2 separate regions of the Homo sapiens genome follow, and region 2 is linked to region 1. The links are contacts of gene promoters, found by promoter capture Hi-C in blood cells and fetal thymus (Javierre and others, 2016). All regions are on one chromosome and are shown on one strand. The core of a region is centred on a gene start or on the middle of the fragment in contact, and the rest is flanking DNA. Distances in the headings are between cores, read along the strand shown.

What was found. The method cuts DNA at HindIII sites, captures the fragments that hold promoters and counts their contacts. A CHiCAGO score of 5 or more calls a contact.
Region 2: a contact is called between a fragment that was not itself captured here and the fragment with the promoter of FRYL in region 1, in 3 of 17 cell types (activated CD4 T cells, fetal thymus and naive CD8 T cells). The highest score is 5.8, in activated CD4 T cells.

The regions. Positions count from the first base shown.
Region 1 is chr4:48,777,954-48,781,872 of GRCh38, forward strand. It overlaps FRYL (FRY like transcription coactivator), which reads right to left and starts at 2,326. Exons shown (of 64, transcript NM_015030.2): 1 at 2,125-2,326. RefSeq lists silencers at 1,292-2,171, 2,262-2,371. The HindIII fragment of the contact is 8,638 bases long and covers 1-3,336 here.
Region 2 is chr4:48,335,492-48,339,189 of GRCh38, forward strand. No RefSeq gene overlaps it. Among named protein-coding and RNA genes, the nearest start is that of SLAIN2, 4.2 kb to the right of the region's middle. The HindIII fragment of the contact is 2,208 bases long and covers 160-2,367 here.

The sequences.
Region 1 (3,919 bases), core at 1,076-3,575:
AGCAGAAGGATCGCTTGAGGCCAGGAGTTGGAGACCAGCCGTCTATACGAAAAATTAAAAAGTGAGACCACCATCTCTACAAAAAATAAAAATTTTAGCTAGGCGCAGTCGTGCCCACCTGTAGTCCCGGCTACTACGGAGCCTGGGGTGGGAGGATCACTTGAACCCAAAGAATTTGTTTTTGTGTGTCTTTATTTCCTAAATTCTGTGAGAAGAATAGATTTTTATTTCAAACATTATCTGATATTGGCTTCCAATTTCCCAAGTAGTTTCTCTATTGTTACTGCTGAGCCTGTGAATTTACAATGTTCCACACCACTCCGAAGTTACTAGACAATAAATTAATCGATGAACGCTTTAAAAAGTTGGACTGCTTTAATAAAAAAAAAAAAAACTGGGTCACATGTTCCAACAGAATTCCCTCTTTTAGAGAACTAATTTTACAAAATAATTCAGAGTGGAAGACAAGACACGATGGAATGCTATTTTTGATAATGAGTAGCAGAAAAAAGACCAGAGAATAACACACCCACTGCTACTTTGTTTATACGGTTGTAACTTGCACATGCAAGTACTCTACATAAAGTATTGCACAAGAAGAAACTGTCAAAAATGAATGCTTATGAAAACATTCTTCACTAAGGCCTCTAACAAGGAATGTGCTATCTCTGATTTCCTCGGCAAGTATTGACAGATTAAGCAGAGTGATAATGCTCAAGATGAAAAGACGTCTTATACTAGTTTTTATCAATAGTAAAAGCTGTTGGTACTAATTATAATGGCTGTAAATTCAGTAGCAGAATCAACTTTACAGACGATATCTCCTAGGCAGCACAGCATTTTATAAAACCAACTTTACTTCCATCAAAACCCTTTTTCCCCCCCAATCCGACAGACCCTGGCAACCTGTCTTGCTGTGTCTTTTTTCCCCTACCCTTCCAAAAGAACCCCAGCCAGTGAATCGAAGTAATATTTTCCGCAGTTCAAAGGTAAGGGCAAACTCAGCTCTACTAAGAACTCTTGCTCCTCACCAGCACACACCCTAACCCCCACCCCCTTTTTTTTCTTTTCAAATCTTGGCCTAGGAAAGATTAATGCTCCCATATCATTGCAAATCCACAAAAATGCGATTTTAGGTGGCGAGGAACTAAACTAGGATGGCAGGAAAGACCGGCAGCAATAAATCATTTCGCCCTAGAAACCAGCCTCTCCAGAACGCAGGAAACCAGGCTGTGCCCAAAGAACCTGCCGCCCGGAAGCAACAACTTCCATCAAACGGCAAATAAAAGTTGCAAAGAAGAGCTCAGCGCCCAGGCACCCTGCCCGGTGCCGAGGCTGAGAGCAGCAGGCAATCTACAGGCCGAGTCAGCTCGCGGGCGGTGGCCGCGGTGTCCGCAGGGCTGGCTCCGGCTCCGGAAGACTCCGGGTCCCGGGGTACGCCAACGGCCCGGGGCTGCGCGGGCACAGCGCCCGCACCCCTCCCCAGGACCGCGAGCAGTGGGCGGAGAGACCAGAGCAAGGGAAAAGGCGGACAATGCCCGGCTGGGCTGGCGCGCTCCGCCGGTCCCCGCCAGCCCTGCCCGCCGGGGCCCGCCAGCCGCCGCGCTAAGTTTGCTCCTCAGCCCTCCCTTCCCAGCCGAGGCGGCGGAGCCGTGGTCGCCGGTCTTCCTCCACCTCTGCCACCGCCTTCCTTCCCGCGGGGCGGCTCCCGCGAGTCGGTGGCGAGGCGGCGCGCGACCAGAGCAGGACGCGCGAGAAGGCGGCGCGCGAGGGGTACCCGGGCGCGCGCGAGAAGAGCCAGGCACTGGAGGGGAAGGGGACGTGCGGGAGAGACGGGCGCGCGGCGCTGCCGGCGGAACCGCCGGAGCTCGGGCGGGCTTTCGGTTGAGGCTGGGGTTGCGCCGCGGTTTGGTGTCCGTTACGAGCGCCGGCCCGGGCCGCGCCGCGCCGCTTGCCAGCCATCCTGGACCGCCTTCCCTCGGCGCCCACCAGGAAGGACAGCTGGCGAGGGCCGACGACCTCGTCTCCCGCCCAGGCTGGGCTGCCGGCGGCGGGCATCCCGGCGCCTGCCCCGGGGCTGGAAGAGAAAGTAAAATGAAGCGCCTTTCCCCAGTCAACACCTACCCGTTCCCAGTCCTAGTACAGCTGCCTCGCTCCTCCAGCGCCGCCGGTCCCCGCCCTCGGGCCCCTGGCTCCGTTCTCTTGACAATGGCGCGTCCCCTTTAAGGAATAATCCGATCGGAACCGATCTGTGGTTAAACCTCCCTCCGACTCTGATTTTAACCGGATTTCTCTCTCGCTCTCTCCCAGAGCCCGACGGGCGCCCGGCTGTGCTGCGAGGTCTTCCCACCCCTTCCCTACCCCGCCCGCCCCCTGGCCTTCCTGATTGGCGAGAAACACTACAACAGGAACAGCAGTCCTCGCCCTCCACTGGCCTGGCCAGCCGCCGCTCAAAGTTGCTCCTACCTTCTCCCCGCCCCTTTTCCCGGGTTGGTCTTCCCTCTAATCATTCTCTGCCCTCGCCTCTAACGTTGCTTTGGAGCCCTGGCAGTCAAGGCTCACCCTCCCGCCTCCGGAAAGCGAACTTTATTTTTATTGGTGAAAGGACATCTTCCTGTACACTTGATTGGGCAAGGAAAGAGCTAGTCTGCACGCTCCCTACCATTATTACTCTCTCTTTACGGGCTTGAGAAACACAGCCGCAAAGTCCTCTCCGCTTTGCCTTCTAGGAGCGACTTTACCTTTAAATGTTGTTAGGGGTCGAGGACAAACTCATATCCTATATTGAGGAAAGCTGGAAAGGGACAAGAGAAAAATTCAAAATTTTCTCCCGATCAGTAATGTATCCAGAGCTGGCGCCCGGATCCTGCGGAACCTTATCCAATGATCCAGAGAATGGAATGGTTAGAATTGAGTTAGAATACCTGAAAGTCCAGTGCTAATTCCTCCTGAGATTTACTCAACAAGTTTCATCCACTGTCCGCCCTACTCATACCATTGATTGCACTGGCATTTTGCCACCCGGAAGAGCTTTAATCAAGTTATCTGCAAACCTGGAGGTTTCCTTGCTTGTCTCGCAATTGTTCATTTAGAAAATCATTTCCATTACAAGTTCCGTTTAAGTCACGTCCTCTGTGACGTTCCCGCGTTTCCACGAGACCTGTTACTTTTTTGAAAAAATTAAGTAGATGGTACCCTTATGCCATCCTCAAAGTGTAGGACTTCGTTCCCCCTTGCTAGAACTGTAGGAAAAACACCCCAGGTCACTTGAACAACTGAGATGCCTCTCAGGAGAAAACGAGTCTGTCTAAGGGAAAGAGGGAATCTGATACCAGAAGCTTGACCATGGAGCAGAACCTCACGCATTGAAAAGAGAAGAAATTATGGGGAAGCCTAGTGCGGGGTCTGCTTTAGAGTTTCCCCAGTTTCCCACTGGAGCTGTAAGAACTAAAAGGTTTATTTCCACTAAAATTGAGTACAGGTACAGCTTCGGTACCCATCTAAGAATGTTAGGGGAAAATGGTTATGTGTTCTCTCCCTCTTTGCCGATGAACCTTGAAGACTGTGTACCCCGGGGGCTTTAGTACATTTGCAGTGATACCCCAGTATAATCTAATGGTGCCAAGGAAGTGTCAGTGCTCAGCAGTACCCTAGAAAAGGGGCTTGATGATGACAGAGAAGGGTAAGTAAACATCAGTAGTTGGTAGTTCATAGGACTTTTCCCCAAATACAGGTGAAAAATTTCATGAGGATTCCCGAAAATATGAAAGAGCAGGAAACAAAAGGGAACGTTGCAGGAAGGTGGTTTAGGTATCACTAGTGGGGGCAAGAGACGATGAACTATCTGGGTTGCATTTATATGGCCTTCACAGATACACACATCCTCCCTATTAAGTCCCTATAACTAAATCCCTATGCT
Region 2 (3,698 bases), core at 14-2,513, 440 kb before region 1:
CTTGCCGCTAAATTCTGACTCTCAGATCTTCTTGCTTTGTTGATTATGGTGTTATTACTGCCTTGGGTAAAAGACTCCTTCTGCTAACTTCTGCCCCCATAAAACTCCTACAGGCTGGGCTAGTTCACTAACTTTTCCAATGAGAAGCTCAGATGCTGAAGCTTTATTTTAGCAAACCACTGACTGATGGGTCTTCAGCCATTCCTACCTATCTCTCCAGTACCTGGACTAGTGCCCAAGTATACAGCCAAATTTTGAGCAAGAGGTCCAGGAACTACCTCCCTCTCTCTCTCTTTTTTTTTTCCCCCAAGATGGAGTTTCGCTCTTATGCCCAGGCTGGAGTGAAGTGGCACAATGTTGGCTCACTGCAATCTCCACCCCCACCCCCCGGGTTCAAGCAATTCTCCTGCCTCAGCCTCCCAAGTAGCTGGGATTACAGGCACCCGCCACCATGCCTGGCTAATTTTTGTATTTTTAATACAGACGGGGTTTTGCCATGTTGGCCAGGCTGGTCTTGAACTCCTGACCTCAGGTGATCCACCCCCTCCTTGGCCTCCCAAAGTGCTAGAATTACAGGCGTGAGCCACGATATCCAGCCGAACTACCTCCCTCTCTAAAGAACTGATTGCTTCAATGCTGGGTTCCAGAGTTGCTGAGACACCAAATCTGGCAAACTTGCTGTTAGAGGAAGATTGTGTTGTTGGTATTGCAAATGCGATGCTTAAGTTCTCAACATTATCCCTCAATCCCCACCCCAGATGGTAGCTGACTACGTATCAATACTCTTTTAAGTAAAAGAATGGAGAACTCATCATGCTCATGGGCCAAAGGGGATTCTAAGTGCAATTCTGAAGTCAGACCAGCTGGGTCTAATTTAGCTCCACTACTTCCTGGCTATAGTATTGGAAATTATTTAACCTCTCTATATCTCAGTTTCTTCATTTGTAAAATGGAGATGATGATGAGAATAGCAGCTACCTCCAAAGACTATTGTGAGTTTTAAATGAATTATCACATGTCATAAAAGTGGTTAACAACTATTAGCTACTATTATTATTGGGCCAATTTGGAGAACTGGATATTTATAGAATTAAACTTCCAGGGCACATATAACTGTTTACATAAGAAGGATGATGAATAGAAAGTAACTTTGTAGACATACTTGGGCAAATTGAATAGTTGATGATGTCAGTCGGGGTAATACTCCAGGAGTTTTCCAAAGACTCAGAAATGGAATTCTCTACAGCTTCCTAGAAGACTAATTATTTAAGTATCTCAATGGCAGCTTAATTTACTTTTGCTTGATACAAGTCTCTATGTATAATCTACTCTCTCCACTGTATCTCTAAGTCAATACTCAGAATAATGTATTTTAAATCCTAGGGCAGATTATTGGGACTTATCTTATTGACTTGAATATTTGGATTATTCCAAGTTTTCTTCCATCTTTGAATAGTAGTTTCTGTAGAACATCAAACACGTTCAGAAGTGGTTCATATTCCACTCTTCCAACTTCACTGTCCTACTGATATACTACTTAAAGAAAAAAAAAGAAATAATAAATGTTATTTAAGAGCTTATCTTCCCATCTGCTGCCAGAAAAAGGGTGGAAGACACGGTATTGTTTCATTTTGGGTAGCTTCCTAACAGTTCAAGAACCTGTTCACCCTTTGCTCTGATCACGGACTTACCCACCCCTACATCTATATAATATATGCCCCCAACAGTGTGATAGGGGACCACCCTCTAGACAGAGAATCTCCCTAAAAAAGCCCCCCTTCATTTTGCCACCAAGCGTTCAATTCAAAATTTCTCATATACTTAACCTTTAAGGTTCCTGGGACTCCTTTGTAAAATTGTATTGTACCAAGACAGTGAAGAAGGGGCCGTTTGATAGATCAAAGGGAGGCACATCTGGAGGAGGGATGCTGGTGAGGAATAGATGAAAGAGGGTAAGTAGAAAATAACTGACCATGTGTACCTATGAAGATTAAACGGATGGACTGTCTAGTGAAATGATCTGTTATGTTAAAAAATGGATGGATTGGATAGCAAAGGTTTTGTCAAAGAATCTGAGCATTTTCTAAGGAAATGCAAATATTTCTGTGTCTAGCAATTTCTAAACTACTTTTTAGCATGTGCTTATATAGACACACACACACACACCTTGATTTAGGATTTTAGGATGGCTAAATATCTTTAAGCCATTGAGTAACAGTTTTTCATTCCAAATACTTTTAGTGGTTTGTAATATTTTCCACTTTGTCAGGAGTTTCACTAAGAGCTAACATGCATGTAGGAGCAAGTTATGAAAATGGGCCACACCTGCTTAGAAAAGAAACAAATCCTTCTTCCAGCAACAAACCAAGCTTATCATAAAACACAACACCTGAAAAACTAGTTGGGCTAACTGTGATGCATACTTCAGACACCTACTAGCTCTGCTCCTTGTAGCTATATAAAAGTCACTCTTAGAGTGACTTTTAAAAACATGCTGTAACACTTCTGAGTCACCAGAGAAGACAGGGTATCACAGCTAACCTGAAAGAGGAAGATCCTGGCAAGGTTAAGGATAGAAAGGAAATATTCTTGTCCTTATGCTTCTCAGTGAGAACTTAAAACTCTCTCCTCAGCAATTCTTAAGGGCTGTTGGCTCTCAGGAGGTAGAGAGTGACCTAGTTTTGAGGATGACATATATGGTATGACATGTTGCTCTTTTGGAAGGAGAAAATATAATTTTAAAAGTCAACCATTCAAAATAATTACAAATTTCCACTTCAATGATTTGAGATATAACCATATTTATCTGAAATTCTCTTTTAGGAGACTTCACTTAGCGTAAATCCATTAACTCTCTCGTTCAAAAAACATGTATTGAGCACTTACCATGTACTAGGCACTGTTGTAGGCACTGTTTTAAGCACTGGAGATATAACAGTGAACTCTGTTCTCCTGCAGTTCACACTCTACTGGTGAGAGACAGGCAGTGAAGAAAAAAAGAAAGAAAAGGAAGGAAGGAAAGAAAGAGAGAGAGATGTGTCTGAGAAAAAATGAAACAGGATTAAGAGGATGGGGAATGACACAGATGCTATTTTATGGAGAATCATAATGAGGATAGTGAATTTAGGTGCTATTTGGGCAGAGACCTGAATGAAGTGAGGGAGTCAGTCATGTGATAACGTGAATGACAACCAGATCCTAGACAGAAAAGCAAGTGCAAAGTTCCTAAAGTAGAAACATGCTTGGCTTGTTTGAAGAAAATCAGGAAGGCCAGTGTGGTAGAGTGATGGGGAAGGTGTTAGTTAATGAGATACTTGCAGAAGTTGCCGAGTATCCAGAGCCCTATAGTCCAGGGAAAAGACTTTGAAGTATGTTGGGAAGCCAGTTGCTTCTGAGGATTCTGAGCAGGAGAGTAACCTGATGTGACTTACACAAAAGATCATCTGGTTGCCATGTACACAAGAGACTGTAAAGCAGCAAAGTGGAATAGCTCATTAAAAGAGTACCACTGTAATCTAGACAAGAGAAGATGGCAACTTGAATTAGAGTCGTAGCAGTGGAGGTGCTGGGAAGTAATTAGACATATTTTGAATGTAGAGCCAGCACGACCTGCTTAAAGATTGGATTTGGTGGGTGAAAGAAAGTGAGGAGTAGGGATTATCCTAAGGTTTTTGGTCTGAGCATTTAGAAGAGCTGTC